Regions from separate parts of the Homo sapiens genome. Here region 1 is linked to region 2. The links are contacts of gene promoters, found by promoter capture Hi-C in human tissues and cell types (Jung and others, 2019). All regions are on one chromosome and are shown on one strand. Each heading gives the region's core, a stretch centred on a gene start or on the middle of the fragment in contact. The rest is flanking DNA. Distances are from core to core; before and after follow the strand shown.

Region 1 (5,109 bases), core at 2,420-4,919, 1.3 Mb after region 2:
ATGTTATAAATATATACAAATATATGTATTTGTAAATAACATAGTCATATTTGCTTTTATACCTAACTCTGTTAACTGCCAATGATGTGTAATTATATATGTGCATGGGTTAGAAGTGGTGGATGGGGCCTTTGGATTTTAAATGGCATTTTACCTGCAGCCTCTGATGCAGCCTCTTCCAGCTTCCTATTAAAGTGACTGAAAACACTGCAAAAATATATATATATATAATTTTTAAAAAGCACTAAAAACCAGTACTGGCAGAATATTAAAGAAGCGTTAAATTAGATTGACAATATATATGGTGGACCACACATTGTATTCCATTCTAAAAGTAGGAAGAATAATTTCTTAGTTTTACCTGGACCATACAATACATCTACTATGTCCTACTACTGTAGTAGTATATGCAGCGATATACTACTTAAGATTTTTAAAAAGAAATATACAAGCAGACCTAAAGGTGGATCAAAACTAAAGAGTTAAGAATAGAAACATCCAGAGGAATACCCTCTTGAGATCATCTACTGGTAAAAATTCATCACAAGAGTTTTAAAGAGAATAATAACTTTTGTAAGCCCCATCTGATTGAACTGCCTTCCCCAGTAAACCTGTGAGAGTGGAGAGGTTTGAGTATTTTCATGGTAATTTCTTTACCATGTGCCATCTGGCAAATAAAAGAGTTCTTTTCCAGGCAGTACTTTTTACCAAATTCAGAGGTCGGTGAAATATTCTTACAACAACATAAAAATCGGTGGTAAACCCACTATTCCTGGAGGGGAGGAAGACTGGAAAGAAGTATACTGACTTGTCTTTTGGGAATGGAATTATGGATGACTTGCTTCTTTCTTGTGTGTTTATTTTATTTTATTTTTGTATTTCCCATGTTGAACTTGCATGGTTTCCTAAATGAAATAATGTTTCCTCTTTAAAAAGAAACTTTAAATGATATTGAATCTAGTTAAAATGAAACTATGTGATAAGTTTCAGATTTTATAAATAGATTGTCAAAATATGTGTTAAACATTCTTGATAAAATTACATCTTTGCTTCAAGCAATTGTAAAGAAAATGGAATCTATTGACATTACAAATAGCAATTTTAGCATCCATAAATTTGAAATTGTATAAAAATTGTACATATTCTGGGTATAAAATGTTAATGCTTGTCATGTAACTTTGTAAAAACTTTATTTTTTAAAGCATTTTTAGGTTCACAGCAAAATTCACAGAAAGGTCCAGAGATATTCCATTTACTCCAACCCCCACACATGCATAGCCACCCCATTATCAATATCCCCCCCACAAAAGTGGTACATTTTTTTTTACAATTGAACCTACATTGATACATCATTATCTCTAAAACATATAGCTTACATTAGAATTTACTCTTAGTATTGTATATTCTATGGGTTTGCACAAATTTATATTGATGTATATCTTCCATTTTTGTATCATACGGATAATTCCAACATCTCTGGCATGTCTAGTTCTGATGCCTCTTCTGTCTCTTTAAACTGTGTTCTTTGCCTTTAACTATGCATTGTAATTTTTTCTTCATAGCTGGGCATGTACTGGATAAAAGGAACTCCTGTAAATAGGCCTTAAGTTATATGGGTGGGCCAGGCATGGTGGCTCATGCCTGGTAATCCCAGCACTTTGGGAGGTGGAAGCAGGTGGATCACCTGAGGTCAGGAGGTTGAGACCAGCATGGCCAATGTGGTAAAACCTCATCTCTACTGAAAACACGAAAATTAGCCAGTCATGGTGACACATACCTCTAATCCTAGCTACTGGGGAGGCTGAGGCAGGAGAATTGCTTGAACCCGGGAGGCGGAAGTTGCAGTGAGCCAAGATTGTGCCACTGCATTCCAGCCTGAGCTACAAGAACGAAACTCTGCCAAATAAATAAATAAATAAATAAATAAATAAATAAATAAATAAATAAAATAAAAAAGTTATGTGGGTGGTGGTGTGGTAAGGGGCAGTGGAGGGGAAGCTTTCTATCATTCCATAATTAGGTTTCAGACTTTTGGTGAGCCTGGGCCTCTGGATTGTGAATCTCCTAAGTGTTTTTCAGGTTTTTTTTTTCTTATACCATAGGTGAGAGAGAATGGCTAACGTGGGCTGGAATTGAGTATTTCCTTTCTCCTTGATGGTAGGCTAGAGTGGGCTGGAGTTGGGCATTTTTCTTTCCCCAGGTCAGTGAGGCTCTAATATAACAAAACAAAATGGAACAAAAAACCCCAGCAGGTTAGGCTCTGATTAACTAGTTTCTCCTCAGGAAGAACCAAGCTTCAGCAGATTTAAAGATGTGTACTTTTTCCCTTCTCTTGCTGGAAGCATGAGAGAATTTTTCTCCAATATTTACTGTGAGAACTTGGTAGCACTCCTGGAGGTAAAACACACAGAATTGTGGGGACCTCCCTATTACTGGGTTCCTCTGGAGTTTTTCAACTTTCAGACTTGCCTGCACTCAGCCTCTAACGATTTGTCAATTATAGTTGAGGTTTTTCTACCCCAGCACTGGTTCTCTTGGAGGTTTCTGCTCCGGTATGTTGTGATTCTCCATAGCCTACTGTCTATCTCACCAGTGGTTTGGGCAGCAGTTTGCCCTGTGACCTCACTTCTCTTATGGATCTAAGAAGAGTTGATTTTTCAGTTTGTTCAGCTTTTTTGTTGTTAGGACAGATTGGCAACTTCCAAGCTCCTTATGTGAGGAACTGAAAGCTGGATTATGTTACTTTTTTACTGGGAGGTTGAGTGATAGAAGAACTGTCATCAGAAGTTTAATTAAATTATCAATCAGTAACAATCAATTAAATTTCCAGTGAAAGCAAATCTATTTTGGATACATCTAATCAGGATAAATGAAAGAATAAGTGTGCATTCTTACAACATTTCTCTTTTTTTTTTTTTTTTGAGAGCCATTACAGGTGCGAACCACCATGCCCAGCTGATAATATGAGTAAGTTTTGAAGTTGGGCTTTATTTTATTACATGAGAAATATTTTTGCTCCTTTGAATTTTCTAAACAAATATTATACAAAGCCTTTAGAAAAGCTTAAGATATAAATGAAATGTAATTCCATTTCAGAAGGTAGTTTTGACATTACATTATTTGTATTTTTTCTTTTTTTTCCATTTTGATTCCAGTAAATTGCAAAACAAATGATCTGTATTTTATTATATTTTACTAAGCAAATTTTAAAGGTATATGCAAACAACATTTAAAGAGCTCTTCTTATTAAAAAATTTTAAATTATAATAAGTTAAAATTATAATAATCTAAGTGTTTGTATTACTTCCATGCTACGGATAAGGAAATTGTGTCTCACAGAGGTTTCATGCGTTGGTCAAAATTACACAAAAAGTAAAAGGCAGAACCTGAAAATAAGGGTTCACATCTTAGGACTCCAAGATGGTATACACATTTGACTTTTTTGTCTTTAAACTTGCTGTGAACATTTTTCCACTTTTGATTCTTAAGTATAAATATTAAGTGCCTTCTTTGTATTTCAGTATTAGGCTTTTAAGTCTTCTACTTCCAAAAAAAAAATTAAAAGTAAAATTTAACAAGCATTCTAAATATTCCAATTATGAAATATATTTCATATTATGAGATTTTTCTTCTGTAAAAGAATTTATCATTTAAGATTAGAAGATTTAACCTTGAGGAGTATGATCCAAAATGGCTTTTTATATTAGTTGAATCATGAAAAGTCCCAACAAAGCATTTGCTGGTTTTAGGTGATGAAACTAGGTGTTTAATGAATTTATTTTTTCTTTTCTAATTGGTGATTGTACCCTGGGTTATGAGAATATGTAGAAATTGAATGTAGTAGCTACTAGCAACTTGCTGAAACATGATGCATTTCCCTGACTCTCAGCAACTGAAACTGCGGCTTCATGAAAGGCTTCTCGTATTTCAGTTATAAATGTTCAGAACAGCATGCCTTCAGACTTTGCTAGAACTTGCCAGGAGTGGAAAGTCATGACTATCAACATCGTTATTAGTTAACATTGACTGAGTACCAACAATGTTTTTGGTGTTATAAATATAGAGAAGAAGACACTGTTCTGTTCCTGGGGGATTGGCTTTCTGTAAAGGTGAGATAGAGAATTTGGTCTTGAATGTTCTTTTCTTGCTGGGAGGTGGGGTTGGAAGCACAGCCACCTCAGGTCTCATTCTGATGGCACACTCACCTCTTTATTAGTTGATGATATATGCAATAAAAAGAAAAAAATGTATAATTACACATACATACACACATGTGAAAACTCATGTAAATTTTATTTTTTATTGGTAAAAAATATATATTTATGGGGGGAGCTTGAGGCAAAAAGTCACATCCTGCAAGATATCCAGGTGACAGTAGCTTCTATATCCTTGTGTATAATGTATTTATACTGTTATTAATAGTATATAGAATGTGCTAAGAAAAGTACATAGAAGTTTTTGTATGTGTAAATATATTTATATGAACCCAATATGTAGAATACAGGGACCAAGTGTTTTGTTTTTGACATCTAAGGGACAAAAGTAATCCAGCCTCTTGAAAGAATGGAGACTTTCCAAAAATATCTGAACTGATTATTGGTATTCATATAAGATAAATAAGTCATCTTTTAGGTCTTTATTCTTTGATGTCTAAATATACAGGAGTTTTATTTCATCAAGTTATTTAAGAGGCAAACATTGACATTAGCTATTGATTATACCAAAATGCAATGATGACAAAAAAATATACCTTAACATTTGACATTAAAGTTACTTTCTGAAAGTGAAACTCAGGGAAAATCAATGAAGTAACTCATCACACCCTCTGATAAGTACAAGTGACTAAAGAGTCTAGGAAATACCCAACCTCAGGAACTAGGGTGTGACTTTATTATACTATGCTTATACTAGCATAAAGGTTGAACTTAATCATTCTTTTATGCTCATTGTGAAGGAAGTGTGTAAGTTGAAGGCATTTTAAGAGGATGAAATACTGAAACTGATATTACAGAGATAAGAATTTGTGTAGAAAGTATTAATTCTGTATTTCTACTGTTACATTTTTGTAATTTTTTTTAAAGAGCCAGACTTTTTTTGTATGTATTATCA
Region 2 (5,477 bases), core at 838-3,337:
TAGGCACACAGGTGTGTCACCTTACCTGTTCAAAATCTGGGCTGAAATGCCTGCTTCCACTGGGGCCTTCCCTAACCACTTTAACATTTAACACAACTCCCCACCTCCAAAAGTCTCCATCCCCTTCCCTTCTTTATTTTTCTTCATAGCACTTATCAAACCCTGAACATCACATTTTTTTTCTTTTTTTTCCTCTTTTTTTTTTTTGAGACAGAGTCTAGCTCTGTCGCCCAGGCTGGAGGAGTGCAGTGGCGAGATCTCTGCTCACTGCAACCTCTGTCTCCCAGGTTCAAGCGACTCTCCTGCCTCAGCCTCCCAAGTCGTTGGGACTACAGGCACGCACCACCACACTCGGCTAATTTTTGTATTTTTAGTAGAGACGGCGTTTCACTGTATTGCACAGTCTGGTCTCGAACTCCTGACCTCACGATCTGCCCGCCTCGGCCTCCCAAAGTGCTGGGATTACAAGCGTGAGCCACTGCGCCTGGCTGAACACTACATTTTTTTTACTTCTTTATTCATGTATTGTCTGTCATCTCCAACTAGAATGAACGTATAGTCCCTGAGAACGGGGAATTTGTTATCTATTGAAACTTCAGGGCCTGGAACATAGCAGCACTCCAGTATTTGTTAAATAAATGAATCCATTTGAGCTTCTGCATATTTGAAATTTCATAAGTATATATAAATGGTAAATTGTGATAGACTCAAAGGCTAGTATCATTAGGCAATTGTCTCCCGTTCCCAAAAGACTTCCTAAGTCTACTAAATGATCTGTTTTTAATATGAAAGCAAAGTTATCTAAAAGAAAGGAGAAATCTTTAGTTTTTTTGACTTCGAGATTCTTTGCAATTTAAGCTTTTTTTTTTTTTTTTTTTTTTTTTTTTGCTTTTCTTTCAATGGACACTTTCGAAGTTTTACATAAAAACATTAAAACCTCTTGTTTAATGTAGTGGGATTAAGCTGCCGAAGGCAATCCCTACATGTGAGGAAAATATGCTTCCGACACCCCAATTTTTTTTTTCTCCCTACCCATCCTCTCTGGTGGTCCTGACGCTCCCAGCCCCTTTTTGTGTTTCTTGATTCCATGCTGAGAACTCGCAATACAAACTCAAAGCCCACATTTGTGAGGTGGTTGGGTCAGGACTGCAACTAAAAATGATTATTGTTTTTTAGGTTTCTGGACAGTTCAACACCAGCCTTTGGTTTTGCCTCAGAAGCAGGGAACTTCTCTAGGCCCCTATTTTGCCTTTCAGCTATTGATGATCCAAATCATACCAGCGATTAGGAGGATCATTACCAGACACAAGGCCAGGTACGTTTAAAAAATAAATAAACCAAGCGCAGGTGCACACTCCGAACGCTCATCCCCACCCCCACTTTCCAATCCAACAGTAGGTAACGAGAAATGAATTTTCTAGACTTTTTTTCCTGCAGCAGTTGCTGTTACCAGAAACAAAGTTAGATGATATACAATCTAATCTTCATTGCTCTAAAAGTCCTCTCCCCATGCCCCCCAGGCTGCCTCAATTCTCTAGTTTCTTATTCCTTATAAGCAGGGGATGGAGCTGAACCAAGTCGGCCTTCCCCTCCCAGGGCCTTCTCCTCTTGGTCTGGCTTCCATTTCAGATGCGAATTAACCCTCCCAATACCCTTTCAGAAGCAAGGAGTCCCCTTTTTCTCCGCCTCCAGCCTCAGCTAGGTTTTCCTCATTTCGGATTTTTCTACTGCTCATTCCCAAATGAGTCACGCATGACGACAATTTCCACTCTGCTATGTCAGCCTGGAGATGTCCCCCAAGTGATGGCATCTGCTCTCGGAAAGAAAGGTCATCGGTGCCACGACCAGCCCCGCTAACCCAGAGCGGCCGGTGGGCCCCAGTCCCGAGAGTCAGGGCGCGCGGCGGAGGCGAGGCCGGGGCGGCCTCCGCCCTCCCGGCCGCTCCCCCTCGCGCCGCCCCGGCTCCTCCCTCCGGCCCTCGGCGGGCACCTGGCGGCGGCGGGCAGGGGGCGGCGCTGCGCGCGTCACGCGGCTGGGTGGGATAGCGGGCAGGTGACACCCGGCGGCCTCCTCCCCTTTCCAACCCAGTCGGCGGCCGGGACAGCGGGGGCCGCTGTGAGGAGCTCCGCGCTCGCGCTGCCAGTCGCCGCCCTCTCTCCCGCGCGCGCCCGGCGCTTCGGCTCCGCTCCCTGTGCGGTGAGTGCGGGGTTCCAGGCCGGCGGGCAGGGGCCAAACTTTCCCGGCGCGCGGAGGAGAAGAGACTGGGGAGGGAGGCAGAGCCGAGGGGAACGGCGTCGGGAGTGGCCGGATGGAGGAACTTGGGCGCGGCGCGCGAGAAGTGGGACCCGGGTGCGGGGGCCCCGGGAGCGGGGCCAGGCCCTCCCTGGGCTCGGGAGGCGCTTGGGAAGTTCTGTCCCCGCTGCCTGCGCGTGGGGAGGACCGAGGCCCTTTTCGCCGGAGCGCGGGGCCGCGGCGCTCACCTGCGCCTTCTCGGGAGCCCCCACCCGGCAGCATCCCGAAGGGAAGGTCGGGCCCGGTGGGCGCGCTGCGGAGCGGAGCCTGGACTGGGGTCCCGCGCGGCGCTGGCCCTGCGGAGCGGAGCGGGAGGGGCAGAGGTGCTCGCCGGCGGGACTGGGAGGGAGAAGGACCTGCTCGACCTTGGACGCGGAGGTCATTTTCCCAGCTCCGGGGTCTGGCCTCGCTAGCCACCCCCCCAAATTCCGGAGCCCCTTTCTTTCTGTTTCCTTCCTTCCCCTTTGGGCGCTTTTTTTGCTCCCGCGGCCAGATGAACTTGGGGCGCTGTCCCTTCGGCTCCCCGAGCCGCATCCTGTCTTGGTGGCTGCTGCTGGCCGGGAGGAGGCTGATGAATACAGAGCCGTGGAACAGGTCGTGCCGGAGATGGAAACAGGAAAGCCTGTTGTTTTGTCGTCCCAGGTATCGTTGGTTCTTTGGGAAATGGGCTTTCCCAGGTTCGTTGGGAAATGGGCTTTCCCAGGTTCGTTGGGAAATGGGCTTTCCCCCTTCAAGTCAGAGCTGTTTCAAACTTCACCCGGTGCGGACAGAGCGCTCTTTGGAGCTCCCTGGGGAACTCGGGACGGGAAGGAGCGGGTCTTTACACCTGTCCTGCTCCCAGTGTAGTTAGTCCCGCGTCGACTGAAGAACAGTTTTAGCGACCCGAGTTCCTCGCCAGTGGTCTTTTCCCTCTTGCTACGATCTCCCCTCGGAAAGCATGTTCACTTAACCCTGTGCTCTCGGATTACCCTTTATTTCATTCCTCACTTTTATTGCTTACGTGCTCCGAAAGGGTCATCGATACCTGGTGGCTGCCTCTGCGTTCTTACCACGCACCCGCTTATTCATTCCCTTTCTTTGTAGTTTCTCTTCGTACTACTGATCAGAAATTGGTCTCCCCAAGGTCACCGAGAACTAAATAAAATCCACCCCTCACCCCGTGGCAGACATTTATCAGTGCTTAGGTGCCAGGCACTGATGTCAGTTCTTGTGTAAAAGCTTTTAATCTTCACAACGATCCTGGGAAGTAGATATTAATATTATTCTCATTTTAATGATGAGGTAACTGAGGCACGGAGAGGTTAAGTAACTTGCCCAAGGCCACACCCATCTCAGCGGTAGGAGATTCCAGCTCTGGGGTTCTGTCTCCAGCACTGGAGCTGTTAACCACTGTCCTACACTGCCTCACCTAGAGTTCGTTTGCTCGTCCTTATTTTCTGAAGTCCCGTGCTGTTTCAGGCATCGTTGACCAGGCTGTCAATCTCAGGTCCCTCTTTTCCTTCTTATGTGTCTTTATACTAGTTTAGGATCCCCACACCCTCCCCCTGCCCCCGCTTTTTTTTTTTTTAAGAAAAATAGATTTTTGGGACTTTGTTACTTCATCTATCACCTGTATTTATCTGGCTTAAGATTCTGTGCTTTCCATGTCTTCTTCAGTTTTAGTGTAACGTCTGTCAGTGCACATTATAATATTCCGCTTGGACTTGCCCGGCTTTTCCCCAAAACAGCTCCAGATGCTCATTTCCATTAAGGGTCCTGCCATTATCCTGGTCTCCAAGGTGCCGTGCCATTCCTCTCCCATTCGTTAAATATCTTCTATCCAATTTTTACATGGTGTCTTCTAGCCTTTATCAGTCTCGCCCACTCCCATCCTCTCTTCACCACTCTCCCTCTTCCCCACTTTGAACACATATGCCCTTCTCTGCTATTTGTTATCATCTTTTATGTTTGCTTTGCACAAAAAGATTGCAAACAGCTTAGGACATTAAATCTTCAGGCCTTACAGCTAGTAGTTGCTTGATAAATGTAGAAGATGATACAGTATAAATTTTGGTAGCACACATCAGGCAGGTTTGATGATGGAAATTTTTAAGCCAGGTTTTACAGGAAGTTACGGAGTTTGCATTGGTAAACGTGTAGGAGCTGGTAGACATTGTACATGAAGGGGAGAAAAGCCTGTGTTCACTCCATTGTCACAAACAGGTACCCAGCTGTTCTGATGAAACATTACATTTAGAGGTATAATGAAGCAAATCAGCAGAAAACCATTTATCCTTATCTTGACAAAACAAAATATGAAAACACATAAAGTTAAAAAAAAACCTTTTTATTGAAAAACGTAGCACATACATAAAAGTGCATAAAACATAAATGGACAGATTAACACAGTAGATGTATTCAGCAATAGAACGACAGTGTTATTCTGGCCATAGATAGGCTACAGTCAGGCCAAATAGGAATCTTTTCACAAAAACCTGTATAAGGTGAAGTGGGCCTGGACTGCTCCCAAGAGGCATTGCCAAGAAAGAATTGGCTGTGCATGGAGAGGCTTGAGGAGAGAGAAAATAAGACTGGAAATTGGTACCAAAAGGATAAGATCAGGGAGCCAAGAAGAGAGTTCAGACCCACTGAACATAATTCTACCACAATGAATATTTAACCAGGTTGCCTTTGTCTCTCTCTTTTTTTCTATGCATATTTTCCTTCATCATACTCCATATAGTATTTTAGTATTCTCAGGCTGGGCACAGTGGTTCGCCCCTGTAATCCCAGCACTTTGGGAGGCTGAGGCAGGTGGATCACCTTAGGTCAGGAGTTTGAGACCAGCCTGGCCAAAATGGTGAAACCCCATCTCTACTAAAAATACAAAAGTTAGCTGGGTGTGTTGGCACATGCCTGTAGTCCCAGCTACTTGGGAGGCTGAGGCAGGAGAATCGCTTGAACCCAGGAGGCAGAGGTTGCAGTGAGCTGAGATCATGCCACTGCACTCCAGCCTGGGCAACAAAGGAGACTCTGTCTTAAAAAAAAAAAAAAAAAAAAAGGAAAGTAATTTTTTTTAGTATTCTGTGTTTTCCATATAATACCTAGTAAGCATTTTTCATCTTATGTAATTTTCAGAACTCATATTGTTTGTATTCTAGTAATTATAATGTGATTTACTTAACTAAAACTCTATTGTTGGACAA

What was found. The method cuts DNA at HindIII sites, captures the fragments that hold promoters and counts their contacts. A contact is called where the count stands out against the background at its distance.
Region 1: a fragment that was not itself captured here is called in contact with the fragment with the promoter of ELOVL7 in region 2 in 1 of the 25 tissues and cell types used here (dorsolateral prefrontal cortex).

What each region holds. Positions count from the first base shown.
Region 1 is chr5:59,591,132-59,596,240 of GRCh38, reverse strand. All of the region lies in intron 1 of PDE4D (phosphodiesterase 4D), which reads left to right. Among named protein-coding and RNA genes, the nearest start is that of MIR582, 110 kb to the left of the region's middle. The HindIII fragment of the contact is 3,046 bases long and covers 2,147-5,109 here.
Region 2 is chr5:60,840,879-60,846,355 of GRCh38, reverse strand. ELOVL7 (ELOVL fatty acid elongase 7) reads left to right here and starts at 2,087. Exons shown (of 9, transcript NM_024930.3): 1 at 2,087-2,196. RefSeq lists silencers at 1,866-2,165, 2,186-2,345, 2,356-2,415. The HindIII fragment of the contact is 13,401 bases long and covers 1-5,477 here.